4 separate regions of the Homo sapiens genome follow, and all the other regions are linked to region 4. Evidence: promoter capture Hi-C in 16 types of primary human blood cells and fetal thymus (Javierre and others, 2016). All regions are on one chromosome and are shown on one strand. The core of a region is centred on a gene start or on the middle of the fragment in contact, and the rest is flanking DNA. Distances in the headings are between cores, read along the strand shown.

What was found. The method cuts DNA at HindIII sites, captures the fragments that hold promoters and counts their contacts. A CHiCAGO score of 5 or more calls a contact.
Region 1: the fragment with the promoter of NKX2-6 here is called in contact with the fragment with the promoter of ADAM7 in region 4 in 5 of 17 cell types (M0 macrophages, total B cells, naive B cells and 2 more); the score reaches 11.0 in M0 macrophages.
Region 2: a contact is called between a fragment that was not itself captured here and the fragment with the promoter of ADAM7 in region 4, in 1 of 17 cell types (total B cells). The highest score is 5.7, in total B cells.
Region 3: a fragment that was not itself captured here is called in contact with the fragment with the promoter of ADAM7 in region 4 in 1 of 17 cell types (naive B cells); the score reaches 5.8 in naive B cells.

The regions. Positions count from the first base shown.
Region 1 is chr8:23,705,187-23,708,402 of GRCh38, reverse strand. NKX2-6 (NK2 homeobox 6) reads left to right here and starts at 1,647. Exons shown (of 2, transcript NM_001136271.3): 1 at 1,647-2,078. The coding sequence starts at 1,805. The region is part of intron 3 of LOC107986930 (a long non-coding RNA gene); the gene reads right to left. RefSeq lists an enhancer at 3,028-3,216. The HindIII fragment of the contact is 21,372 bases long and covers 1-3,216 here.
Region 2 is chr8:23,783,175-23,786,683 of GRCh38, reverse strand. All of the region lies in intron 3 of LOC107986930 (a long non-coding RNA gene), which reads right to left. Among named protein-coding and RNA genes, the nearest start is that of STC1, 70 kb to the left of the region's middle. RefSeq lists an enhancer at 2,019-2,602. The HindIII fragment of the contact is 2,184 bases long and covers 841-3,024 here.
Region 3 is chr8:23,752,061-23,755,393 of GRCh38, reverse strand. The region is part of intron 3 of LOC107986930 (a long non-coding RNA gene); the gene reads right to left. Among named protein-coding and RNA genes, the nearest start is that of NKX2-6, 47 kb to the right of the region's middle. The HindIII fragment of the contact is 7,978 bases long and covers 1-3,333 here.
Region 4 is chr8:24,439,195-24,442,687 of GRCh38, reverse strand. It overlaps ADAM7 (ADAM metallopeptidase domain 7), which reads right to left and starts at 1,662. Exons shown (of 22, transcript NM_003817.4): 1 at 1,528-1,662; 2 at 112-215. The coding sequence starts at 1,579. All of the region lies in intron 1 of ADAM7-AS1 (ADAM7, ADAMDEC1 and ADAM28 antisense RNA 1), which reads left to right. The HindIII fragment of the contact is 2,181 bases long and covers 168-2,348 here.

The DNA.
Region 1 (3,216 bases), core at 398-2,897, 730 kb after region 4:
AGCTGAATGATCAAATGTGCTGAAATTTTGCATAAATATTTGTGTGCAATTTTGCACCCATTAGCCTGGGGAGATGAGTTGGGTTTATCTGAATTTCAGGAGATAATCATATTCAAACAGCTGTTGTAACATTGAATTCACGTAAGTAGGTTTAAGAAGCATTTGAAGCCTGCGCGGTGGCTCACACCTGTAATCCCAGCACTTTGGGAGGCCGAGGTGGGCACATTACTTGAGCCCAGGAGTTCAAGACCAGCCTAAGCAACATGGCGAAACCCCGGCTCTACAAGCAATAAATAAATAAATAAATAGCCAGGCTTAGTGGCTGCATCTGTGGTCCCAGCTACTCAGGAGGCTGAGGTGGGAGGATCACTGAGTCCGGGTCGAGGCTGCAGCGAGCCATGATCCGGCCACTGCATTCCAGCCTGGGAGACAGAGAGAGACCCTGTAACCAAAAAAAAAAAAAAAAAGGAAGAAAGAGAAAGAAAGAAAAGAAAGAAAGAAAAAGGAGGGAGGGAGGGAGGGAAAGGAAGGAAAGAAAAACAAAAAGAAACATTTGATCTGAAATCCCCAAAAGAACTCTAATGAGATCCCATTGTGATTAAAACACAATTTTTAAACCCTCTTCGATTCAGTGCTGGAACAGCTGACACCAAATCACGTTTCCCTGATCCAGGAGTAGTAACAGCAGGGGCTGGATCTGTTGGCGCTATCTCCGTGTTGGTAACCTTTGTGCCACACTGCGCCATTTACTCGGTGCCCGCCGTAACCAAGGGCCTTTTCTGGAGATCTAATGCGAGTCAAATCTTCCCAGCCCTTCGGCGGGCGCCGCATTTATACGCGCACACAAGCTGGCACGCTCCAGGCAATCCGCTTTAAGGAGGATAAAGGAGAGGAAGAAAAAGAACGTGGGGACGCCAAGGGCGACGGAAGCCCACCCCCCCCCACCCCCACTCCCGCCTCTGACCACTTTGCGCGGGCCGCAGAGATTGCCTTCCAGTCTCCCCCACCATTCGCGGAGCCCTTTAAGAGGTCGAGGGCTCCCCACATGTAGCCCCCACACCCATTCCTCGGTCCTGGGGCTGAGAAGCTGCTCCTAGGAAGTGGCGGGTCGGGACTCCGCAGACCTGGATTCTGTTCAAAGAGAGAGGTTTCCATCTCAATATAGGCCCTGGTGGGTCAAGACTCACTTCTACTCTGCGGTCCGGCCTCTGCGCACGTAAGATCCCAGCGCGCGCCTCAAATTCCGCGGGTCCCAGCTGTCTCTATCTTAGCTTTCCTCCGCCATAAGAATGCAGAGTTGAGCTAAGACCAGGCTGGATGGACCGGATCGGGTTGCACAGCAAGGACTCCACCTCCAATCCCCGCATGTCCACTAGGAGGGTCCCCGTGGACCCTAGGTTGACCTCGGAAGCTCCCGCTAGTACCGTATTGACGGAGATCCAAGCCGCGCGCAGCACTGTCTCTCCACGTTTTCTTTGCTTTGAGAACCGTCAATACGAACCAAACCTCCCAGGAAGGCGACTGGGGACTGGAGAGGATTCGACGGGCGCGGGAAGAAAGCGCTGGGGGAGGAAGGTGCAGAGCTAGCACGTGGTTTCTGCGAGAACCAATGGGGGGCTACGGTCTCGTCACCCGGCCCTGGACCCGGGCCTACCAGCATGGCCCAGAGGAAGGCGCTGTCTGGGACGCTGGGCGTCTGTCCCAGAGCTTGGGTCTGTCTGCGGGGCCTGCAGCGACAAGACGGGAAGTTCAGGGTGCCGCTCCTCACCCGGACCTCCTCGGCCCCGCCCCATCCGCCTTCGGGATGCTGCTGAGCCCCGTCACCTCCACCCCCTTCTCGGTCAAGGACATCCTGCGACTGGAGCGCGAGCGGAGCTGCCCCGCGGCTTCGCCACATCCGCGGGTGCGGAAGAGCCCGGAAAACTTTCAGTACCTGAGAATGGACGCAGAGCCGCGAGGGTCAGAGGTTCACAACGCTGGTGGCGGCGGCGGTGACAGAAAGCTGGATGGTTCGGAGCCTCCTGGGGGTCCCTGTGAGGCAGTCTTGGAGATGGACGCGGAACGGATGGGGGAGCCACGTGAGTAAGCGCTCAGGTCTTGCCTCCTACGGGGGGAATGTGGGGGCGGGGGCGTGATCCATGGGTGCATGGGGAAAATACGCCTCCTATCTCCTGGGTTCGAGACTCTCTCCATTTTCTCTCGAGGAGTCCAAAAAAAGGCCTCTCGAATCCCATTCCCATCCTCTCCTGACACCCAGTGTGCTTCACACACCCCTAACGAAAGTAAGGCCCTGAATCTCAAGGATTCACTTTTCCCAAATCCGCTCCTCTGATTCCCACAAACGCATCGCTCACACTCGCAGCCACAGTGCCCAGAACCTCCACCTTCTCATCTCCACAGCGAAACCCTCCGCAGTGTCTTAGCCGTGCCAGTCACCACCGCCCTTCCCTACCATCACCTGGTGTCTCTCCACCCCCAAACCGTTTGCAAAAGCGTGTGGCCATCAAAGCAGTGGAACCCTCGTGGCGCTGAGGTCACTCCTAACTGGGCCCTTTCTTGCTGGTCTGGTCGGGGGACCCCCCCATTCCTCCTCATGGATTTTTCTTCTGGAAGACGAAAGTTGGGGACCGGGTGGCGATTGAGTCTCCCGAAGTGGAAGGCCCCGTTGGCGCAGGATTCTCCGCGTCAGGGAGAACGTTAAAGGTTGCCAGGGTTTTCTCTGCCCTGGGACACGGTTCTGGCCGAGTCCTGTCGCAGGTATCCAAAGGCGCAACCGTGCGCGCCGGGCTGCGAGGCCCACGCACCTGTGTCCAGCCCGCTGGAAGGGAAGGGGCTGGCGGGGAGTTGTGTTGCGTCGATCCGGGAGTTGTGTTGTGTCGATCCGGAGGCTTCAGCTGGAGAGGCCCGATATTCCAAGGGATGAAAACGCCACCTTTTTCTCTCCAAACCTCAGCACCTCACTCGGCATTCTCAACGCAGGGGCCCTGAGTAGCGCCCGCCAGGGCAGGCCTCCTCTGCCAGACTGTGCCATGGCGCCTCCATTCAAGGCGCGAACGAAAGAAATAAACCAAGGGGCTAGATCGGAGTTATTTACCGGCCTGCAGGCCGGCTACTCACTAACTCCAGAAGCCTAAGAACATTACCTGCTGTGTCCGCGAAGAAGCTGGTAGGTTTTCTGCAGCGGATTCTAAACTCCCTCGGCGCTGCTCAGCCAAC
Region 2 (3,509 bases), core at 683-3,182, 660 kb after region 4:
CAGCAAACTCATGAACGTAGCTAACATCATTCTAACCCCACAAACTGCGAGAAGATCCTAAAACCTGCTTTAAAACCAGACATTGATCAACAGTTACAGAAACCACCAGCCTTGTTGATTACCTTTGCCTAAAGTAAAATAAATATGTGCATAAACTCATTGACCATGAAATTGATCGGGGGGGTGGGGTGGAGGGGGGCGGGTGCAGGGGGCAGTGGGGAGGAAAACTAACACCTGCCTTTACTGTTTCTAACAAAAGAATTAGCACCTCATTCCCACCTTCCCTCCAGAAAAGGGGAGGGAGAAATGGATTGGGACTGGGGGAGGCTGATTTCCCTTCTTCATCTTTTTTTTAATCTGTAGAGTTTTAAAAGAGAAAAATCTCCTCTGCAGACAAGAAAATGAGACCAAAGACTATGTCTGTGCGTCTTATCTTTGGAAAAGGCTTATGTTTACTCTCAATAAACTTGACTGCTTCTGAGACAATGAAAAGAATGATTGCTTAGATTATGTTTGATGATCTCAAAATGTCAAACAATAATAAGGGTCAACCTTTAGGAGAGAAAATTATAAAATGAAAGGCAGGGGAGAGCAGGACAGCTGGAGGTATATGCAGTCACATTCCAAGTGTCCCTTTATAAATGGAGAAAGTCACATGGAGAGGGGTCCTCCCACTTTGGTGAGCTACATCAGAGTCATCTGAGGAGGCTGTGAACAGACAGACATCTAGCCCCCACCCCAGGAATTCCAACTCAACAGGTCCGAGTAACAAAGTGTCTAGAGCATCACTCTTTGAGAAATCCCTTGCTAGAAGAAGGAAAAATAAAAAGATAGGAAGCTTAGTGTTCCAGAGAGTAGGTTAGATTAGGAGACTCTGAATTAGCCAGAAAATTTAGGAATCCAAGTTACCCGCAGAGAGGTATTAACAAGACAATTCACATATTCCCATATGTATAGGGCTGGTTTGCAGCTTGCATGCACCTGCAGGGCCATACCAGTGATCTGTACCTAGTATCTGTGCTGATTGGCCTGGGCCTGTGCTATCCCAGTTGCCAAACTTTATGCATGTCACCATTGCAAGGACATGGTAAAAGCAGCTGAACACCAACCATGGTAATTCTTAAAAATATTTAAGGGACCTTATTTGTAAAACTGACAAGTACACAAATATGCAGAGCAGATGAACATTTAAATGTTCAAAGGAGGTTTTGTTTCTTGTTATTCTTGCTTGAACTGAAATATTTGGTGATTTATGGAAGTAAAACAAATCTGCATATGTGACAGACAATGTTTCTGCCTAAAAAGCAGGAGTATGGCCGGGCGTGGTAGCTCATCCTGTAATCACAGCACTTTGGGAAGCCAAGATGGGCGGATCACCTGAGGTCAGGAGTTCGAGACCAGCCTGGCCAACATGGCCAAACCCCATCTCTACTAAAAATACAAAAATTAGCCAGGCATGATGGCAGGTGCCTGTAGTCCCAGCTACTCCAGAGGCTGAGGCATGAGAATTGCCTGAACCCGGGAGATGGAGGTTGCAGTGAGCCAAGATTGCACCACTGCACTCTGGCCTGGGTGACAGAGCAAGACTCTGTCTCAAAAAAAAAAATTAATTAATTAAAAAAAATAAATGAAAAGCAGGAGTGAATCCACTGGCTTATTGCTGCTTCCCTCAGTTCTCCATGTTTGAAGTGAATTCAGCTATAGTGTCAAGGGTGCCTCATGCACTCAAGAATCAGAAATTGCCCTGTGATTTGCCCACCACCTGGACCCTCATCAAAGTGAAGTGGCTGTCCTAGTGACTGTCCTCCTTCTCATCCTCTTGACTGATTTCCTCTCACCCTGCCCTTCTGCTTCTACTTTGATCTGACCCCCTCCCGCTTAGTCACAACGCATCTGTTTATCTAAACATTATTGAGCTTTGGAGAAATTACACTACAGAAGCCAAATAGATAAATAAACTCTGATCTTAGACCTCAACTAGATCAAGTTTATTAGTCCCATAGGATGTTTATCTTGGAGAAGTGCAACTTCAGATCTGGATTCATTATTTGTGGAGGCTGCCAGATCCATCCATGGTACGATCTATGTGGGAAAAGGGCAAATGAGGACTGTGCTAATCCCAGCATTCAGGTTTAAGAGGCTCCCTAAAGAGCATCTCTCTTACTGGCCTGGGTTCTGAGACAATTGAGAAATGAAAGTAAAACCTCTCTTTAATGAGAGGCTAAATTATCATCTTTATTACTGATAAATATTATAGTAGAGAATGTGGCGGCTAAGATGATGGAACAAATAGGCTTCCTCGTCTTGGATCCCAAAATTTTCCATATTTTACCAGGCAATCACAAGAAGATGCTATCCTTGTTTTAGCACTGAAAGCCCCACATCCCAAGAAACCCCTAAGTCCTGAGCAAACCTGGATGATGGGTCACCCCAGCTAGACCAGCGTAGACCGCCTCCAACACCATGGGGAGAAGAACAGATAACACTTCCTACAGGCAGCTCCCTCTCAAGAGAAAGGAACCAGAAAGGCCTCGGCTATGGAGCCCAATTTCTCCTTCCAAGCTCACCAATCAAATAAGGACAAGAGCATCAAGCTGGTGGATCCCCACCTCATGAAAGGAAACATTTAAAGTTGGGGGAAACATTCCTTTTCATCACCAAATTCGATCAATGTAACCAATACAAATAAACCCTTGACAATCCAATAGGAATTCATTGAAAGTGTGACTATAGACTAATTTGAAAAGATAGATAATTTTAACCCACCAGGCCAACATAGTGAAACCCTGTCCCTACTAAAAATACAAAAATTAGCCAGGCATGGTGGCGCGCACCTGTAATCCCAGCTACCTAGGAAGCTGAAGTGGGAGAATCATTTCAACACGGGTGGCAGAGGTTGAAGTGAGCCAAGATCTCACCACTGCATTCCAGCCTGGGCTACAGAGTGAGACCCTGTTTCAAAAAAAAAAAGAAAAGAAAAGATATATAATTTTATGGGTTTCATATAATAACTCAAACTAAGCTTTATAAGTATTATTTAGTAATAGTTTCATTGTTTAATAAAGTATGCATGGTATAATGGGGGTTTGTGGTTGGATTAGGCCAAGTGATCAATTCTTGCCATTGATTTGCGAGCATAAGCATTATGTGTCATTTCCTGTGCAAATGTTTAATTTCCAGTGTGTGGCCATTCAGTGCACTCTTTTCACCCTACTGTGGTAACCAGAAAAGTTCCAGATCGTGATTACTCTGAGTAAAGGTGATAATGACATGGCTACAGGGTCTCCAATCAATCTGCAAAGGACATGTAACACAAGTGAGAAATAAGCAACTGTACTCCTGCACAATCAAAACTTGGAGATGAGTATTACCACATAACAACCAAGTCTATCATGACTGATACCATGGGTCATAGCAACTACCTAAAACATGAATAGAAAAAAGATTGAAAGGAAATATTAACAGTAATTGCCTCTCTGAGATAGGATTTTAAGGTCTTTAATTTCTGC
Region 3 (3,333 bases), core at 179-2,678, 690 kb after region 4:
GAAACACTCACACTTGACAAGGAGCACCATCTAGGGGATTTATAAGGCAAAATTTTTCTTCAAGCAAATCCTAGAGCTGGGAGCGTTCAATAGTGAGGACTACATGCTACCTCTGCCTTGGGCCAGGATGGCAGGAACCTAGATCGGAGACATTTAGCCACATCTGACCCCCAAGCCCAGCTCTGGGCATCCATCTGACAATTTGGAGCGCTGCTGAGTGCAGAAAACTGCCTTTCTGGCACTGGAGAAGGGATTCCTGTTTAGAGAGTTGGGGAGAAAGGAAAATGTCTCTAAGCGTACTTCTGTGATTCTGGCAAAGCAAAAACGTCAAGATCCATGTTTCCAAGTCTCCCTAAATGAAGATATTTAATTAGGGTGATTAAGAGTTCCACATTCAAGCAATTGAATTTAGTGTTTTCTCTTGAATTCTAACCTTTCAGTTTTAAAAGGATGCCACTGTTGGCATTATCTGACTTTATTTTGAGATTCTAATCCCCACCTGTACGAGGCAGGGTTCCTTCATTGGGACTGCGGGAATTATGCCTGCCGGCAGTGAGCAGGAAGACGCCTTGCACAGTGAGACCCCCACTCCTCAGCCACTCTCAGCAGCAGGGTCCACAGGGTTAGGGGTCCTGAGGGAGTTAGGGGAGTAGTGAGGGACTCACTCGCTACCTCTCAAGCCTATCTGGGTCCTTAAAAAGGAGACTTCAGAAAAGTCCATTTAATCCAACCCCTCATTTTAGTGACAAGGAAAATTGAGACTCAGACGGATACTATAATGGTAGCTATGCATCCTTTGTCCAAATCCCCAGAATGTCCAATAGCAAGAGTAAACTCTAACTTAAACTATGAGCTTTTGGTGATTGTGACATGTTGATGTAGTTTGATCAATTGTAACAAATGCTCCACTCTAGTGGGGGATGTCCACAGTGGGGGAGGCTGTACATGTGTCAGGGCAGCAGGATATGGGAAACCTCTGTGCCTTTTGTTCAATTTTGCTGTCAATCTAAATACTCTAAAAAGCCTATTTGTCTATTAAAAATTCGTCTATTAAAACGTCTACTCGGCCAGGCACAGTGATGCATGCCTGTAATTCTAGCACTTTGGGAGGCCAAGGCAGGCAGATTGCTTGAACTCAGGAGTTTGAGACCAGCCTGGGCAACATGGCAAAAACCCTTCTCCACTAAAAATGCAAAAATTAGCCAGGTGTGGTAGTGCATACTGTGGTCCCAGCTACTCAGGAGGCTGAGATGGAAGGATCACTTGAGCCCAAGAGGTCAAGTCTGCAGTGAGCCTTTATTGCACTACTGCACTCCAGCCTGGGTGACAGAACAAGACCCTGCCTCAAAAAAAAAAAAAAAGATTTTACTCAAAATTCCCAAGAGAAGGAGGGCATGCCAGGCCATGGGAGTGGGAGGCCATCAGGGTTGGGTCAGGAGGCAGAGGGCTTCCATGTGAAAGAAGAGGCAAGGCAGGGTAAGCAGCTTAGGGCCAGCCAGTTTGAATAATTTCAGTGGGCTCTGGGGCTAGGGGTTGGCCCTAGTCATCTAGTACCTGGCCCTGGGGTAATGAAGACAAGGGAATAGCAGTCCAGAGTGTGAGAGCCAGATACAGAAGGTTGTTGAAGGAATGGGTTCTAGATGGATTGGTCTGTATACAAAAGGTACACTCAAAAGCAAGTTCTTTACCATCTCTGGAAATTAGCTAGCCTTGGAAGGGATAGTCCCTCCAGTGTCAGCAAGGCCCCACATGTCAAAGCATCAGAAACACATGGGTAATATGCTATGGTCGCACAGTGCGCTTAGTGGCACAGACAGGTAGGACCTGGGACTCTCAACCCAGTTCTCTCCTCACTGAAGTTCGCTGCAGTCCCTCCAGCCCAGCCCAGCCTCATCTGCATCCTCTACCATCTTGCAAGCTCAAAACATTATTTCTTAAGGAACTTGCTCATTTGACTCTGAGAGGCTTCTTTCTCTAGTTTATCCTTTAATTTTCTCCTCTTACAGCTACTTATTTTCTAACAACAGAAAATCCTTTTATGCACATTATGCACATAAAGTCACCGTGTCCAACTGGGACTCACACCGTAGGTTACTGGACTTTACCCACTTTCCAGGACTTAGCTAATTAGCACACGAGGCCAACTGCATGAAACGGGCAGGTGTCAGCTCTGTGTTTTCTCTGGGGCTGGACAAGGTTTCTTGCTGCCACAAGGGGCTGTCTGTGGAGGCTCAGCCTGCCTGCCCCATCACAGTTCAAGCGAAGAGTTAGCATCAGGGATGCATTATCTGTAACAAGATGTTTCTTCCCACACAGAGCAAGCCCAGGCCCCGGAAGGAAGGACTCTGAGGTCCAGGCACATAGGCAGGCATGGTCTGAAAGGTGTGAGTCACAGGACTCTGCTACCCAGAGAGGTGAGGCACTTGGTCTCAGCACTTGAGGAGGGGAAACTGGCAAGAATGAGACAGTCACGGAGGACCCCACCAGGTGATCAGAACAGGAACCCAAGGGGACGTAGCTCTTTGTGCAGGTACAAATCCCTGGCAACCAGCACAGGCCTGAGCAGGGACTCAGTGAATATGGAATGAATAAAGGAACCAATGACAAAAATATACTGGGTGCATGGCAAAGGTTCCAGCTGTGGAACTTGGAAAAAGAACCTTGTTATAAGGCCAAGTTCATGTATCAAATATAAGAGTGCAGGGGGAGCTGTGGGAAATAACAAGGCAGAGGTCTGTGGCTATAGTGGCAAAAAGAGTGACTCAACACTACATCGCACTTTAGTGTGTGTGTGTGTGTCTGTGTGTGTGTCTGTGTGTGGATTTGGGTCTGGAAGTAGCAGAACTGTTACAGAGCTGAGCCAGTGTAGACTACTCCTGCCTCGATTCAAAGTTGGCCTGGAAACTGGTGTGGAAGCTGAGCTGCGGGGGAGGTAAATCAGTGGCCTGCTCTGTAGAAACACAGTAATAGGGGAAACCAGGCAGGATCAGGGTTGAGTTAGGGTTAGGACAGGATTAGGGTTATAGTTAGAAAAGGGAAGGCAGCTAATGCAGTAAGCAAAAAAAAAAAAAAAAGAAAGAAAAAAAAAGTAATAGTTTATGCTTCTGACAGCATCAGGAGATTAGAATAATCTTCAGGCTTCAGTGTTCTGGGGCACATTGACCTCCCAAAGCCACCTTTTTCCTATTTTCATGCCTTGCACCAAGAAGAGGCAAATCCCTTCCTTCCTTCCTTCTCAATTCTCAAACCTATGCTACCATCCTCAGTTTGAAAAGAACATTTGATTCTCAATCAACACAAGTTTGAAAGCCCACAGTATCCATGATGCTGCAT
Region 4 (3,493 bases), core at 413-2,912:
TTAGAAAAATTGAAACTCCTCTCTCCCTATTTGCTTCTGGTTGGAGCTAGAGACAACTGTCTACATGCCTGTGAAAGCAACAAATCTTATTTACTAAATCAAAACTTGTACCAGTATGTCATCATCATGGGTGTGTCCAGTATCTCGCTTCTGTATCAGAGGAAGCTTTTTAGGACGAACCAGTTGTTGACCCTCTACTCCAAGGATGAACTTTTCTACGAGGAAACATAAGAGGAAAAAATCCGTCTGACATTAACATTCGTCTACAGCGGCTGAAAAACAGAATTGTTCTAATACAGTTCATTTGCCCCCAGTTAGCAGCCATGGACAGCAACACTATGAAATGTTATTCCCACTTTACTGGCAAGGAAATTGACACTGATATTTACAAATCAGGAGAATATAAGGAAACTTGGAAAGGAGCCAAAGAAATCAGTGTCCCTCCATTTCCTCCATATTTTCGCCATGTTCTGCAGCTGTAATTTTATTTTTTGTTTCATTTATTTATTTTTTTGAGACAGAGTCTCGCTCTGTCAGCCAGGCTGGAGTGTAGTGGCGTGATCTCGGCTCACTGCAACCTCCGCCTCCCCGGTTCAAGCGATTCTTCCACCTCAGCCTCCCAAGTAGCTGGGATTACAAGTGCACACCACCATGCCTGGCTAATTTTTGTATTTTTAGTAGAGACGGGGTTTCACCATGTTGGCCAGGCTAGTCTCAAACTCCTGACCTCAGGTGATCCACCTGCCTCAGCCTCCCAAAGTGCTGGGATTACAGGCATGAGCCACCATGTCTGGCCTGCAGTTGTCGTTTTGTTATCCTCATGCCAACCTCTGGATTTTGTCTCCTGTCAAAGCCTGCACTGTTGTCCTGTTTGAATGTAAATTACTGAATTTGGTCTTCCAGGGATGTTTGCATTTAAAGTCTTACCTTTCGTAGTTAAGTATAAGACCTTTACCTGTTAAAGAATTTTGGGTAGCCCTGCATCAGTGCCAACCATAATCTTCTATTCATGTCCTATCACCTTGATAGTCATCTGTGAGATGAGCCCTGCTTAATTAAGGTGTGATACTTAAAGAGCAATAAAAAGGAGAGGGCATGGGGTTTCTGGAATATGCTCTGATTTGAATCAAGCCTTTACCAATTTATTGTGTGGCCAGCAGTAGCATATTTAATTTCTCTGATCTGTAAATAGTCTCATTTTCCTTATCTGTAAAGTGGAGATATTAATTTCAAATTTTAAACACTTTAACATACAAAGCAGCTAATGGCCAGCACAGTGCCTGCCATGCTGCAGATATGCAGTACTTGTCCACTCCTTTCTCCTCCTCACTGTGGGTCAGAATGTTCAAGAGTGATATGGCATTACACAGATGCATGGAGTCTCATGATTAGCTGTAATCTAGTCGAAGCTCTCAGAAAAATCATCAACGTTTAATGTTTTTATCACTTACAGTTTAAAGTTTGTGACTAAAGAGACACAACCTCACAGCATAATAAGAAAGTCCTGATAAAAAGAGCAAGACATACCTTTAACCTGAGGAATGAGTAAAATCATCAAGAATATACACCCGGGAAGCATTCTGAGTGATTCTGGTAGAGGAGAGCAGAAGTGCTTGAGAAAAGGAGTTCACCTTTCTTCCTCCTCACTTCCACTGCAGGGATGAAGCACCTCACAGATAGGTGGGCAGTTTTGATCCACAACAAGGAAGTGTTCCTTGAGGGAGTTACACAACTTGCTAGGTGCTTGAGGCTAAAACCTGGAGGTTGAACATCATGTTCTAATTAAAGACAACTACCGAGGTGGTGGTGGTGAAGGTTGGCTGGACATAGATTCCTACGTCATGTCTAATATAAATTTGATTCCAGATATCTGAAAACTTCAAAAGTGGAAAAAAATCAAGAATGTCTTAGGAAAAAAATGTTGAAAAATATTTATATATGCTTTGGTTGAAGATGGTTAAATTCTTTCTATGCAGAGTATGCCATATAAAAACTAAAAGGAACATTTGTTAAATGAGAAATATTGAAAATTTATATGGCATAAATCACATATTAAAATTAAAATATCCAAACTACAGAAATGTATGTAATAAATAAATAAAAGGTGGGAGTAAGTGTCCATATAATATAGAGCCCTTTCAAAGCAATACAAAAAAGAATACCAATGGACAGATGTGCAAAGGGCCTCGACAATTCCATCTGTATGTCTGTGTTCTCTTGTTATGTTAGTAGAGTTATCCCATGGCCAATAGAATCCTTTTATCTTCATTTGGGATTCTATTTCTCACCCGCATCTATATGTCTCTAATATTTCCACAAACTGAACGAATCTATGTCAATTGGAAGCTTCCTTTTGATATTTAGACCCTCTGCTCCAAGGACGACTTTTTCTACAAGGAAACATAAGAGGAAAAATCCATCTGACATTAATATTCATCCATTGTGGTTGAAAAACAGAATTGTCCTCATACAGTTCACTTGCTCCCAGTTAGCAGCCATGTATAGCAGCATTATAAAATATAATCCCCACTTTGCAGGTGGGGAAATTGACACTGATATTTACAAATTGGGAAAACATAAGCAAACTTGGAAAGGAGGCAGAGAAATCGGAGTCCCTTGGCTTAAAACGGGGGTACCATTTTAAGTCAAGTCAAAAGTCTCTCCTTTTTGAAAAATTCTCTCTATTCTATATCTCATATACTCTTACTATCACTTTTTCTCCCATTTCCTTTACAGCTAAATTTCTAACACAGTATTACCTGGACTTCTTGCAATTTTCTTACCTCAAACTTATCCTACCACATCCCAGTTCTAGCATCTGCCTTTATTATTCTACTGAAATGGCCAATATCTCCAGTGATTTTACCATTTCTATATCCAAGAGATATTTTGTTTCCTCATCTCATTTGCCCTTTTAACAATTTTTAGCACTGTTGACCACATCCTTCCCCTTGAAATATACTATTTAGCTCCCTTGCCACAATAGCCTTCTTAACTTCTTCCTGGTTCAGTGGCAACTTGTAGGTATATCCTTTTCTATGTAGCATTTAAATTTTTGAGTTCCTTGAGGTATTTATTAAACACCCTCTTTTCCTCCGATTATGCTTGTTCCAAAGCCATCTCATCTTCAGTTATGGTTTAATTATTGCTATGCTATGCCTCACATTTTATATTTCTAGCCATTTGGGCAACAGATCTTTACAGCAAAGTTTCTACTTAATGTCTTCATTGGGAAGGATCAAAGTCCTTGTAAAATCAATATGTACAAGACTTAAAATACATTTCCCCCCAGTTTGTCCTCTGTCTTGGCCAGCAGTGCCTCATCCCTTTAGCATTGCAATTCTGAAAGTCAGTATCATCAATGACATCCCTTATAATCAGTCCACCACTAAGTTTTTTTTTTTTGCCTCCATTATAGTCCAAGACATTCTTTGGTTACATTGCAACAAGTGTGATTATTTATTTATTTTTTATTTCTGAGATGCAGTGTCGC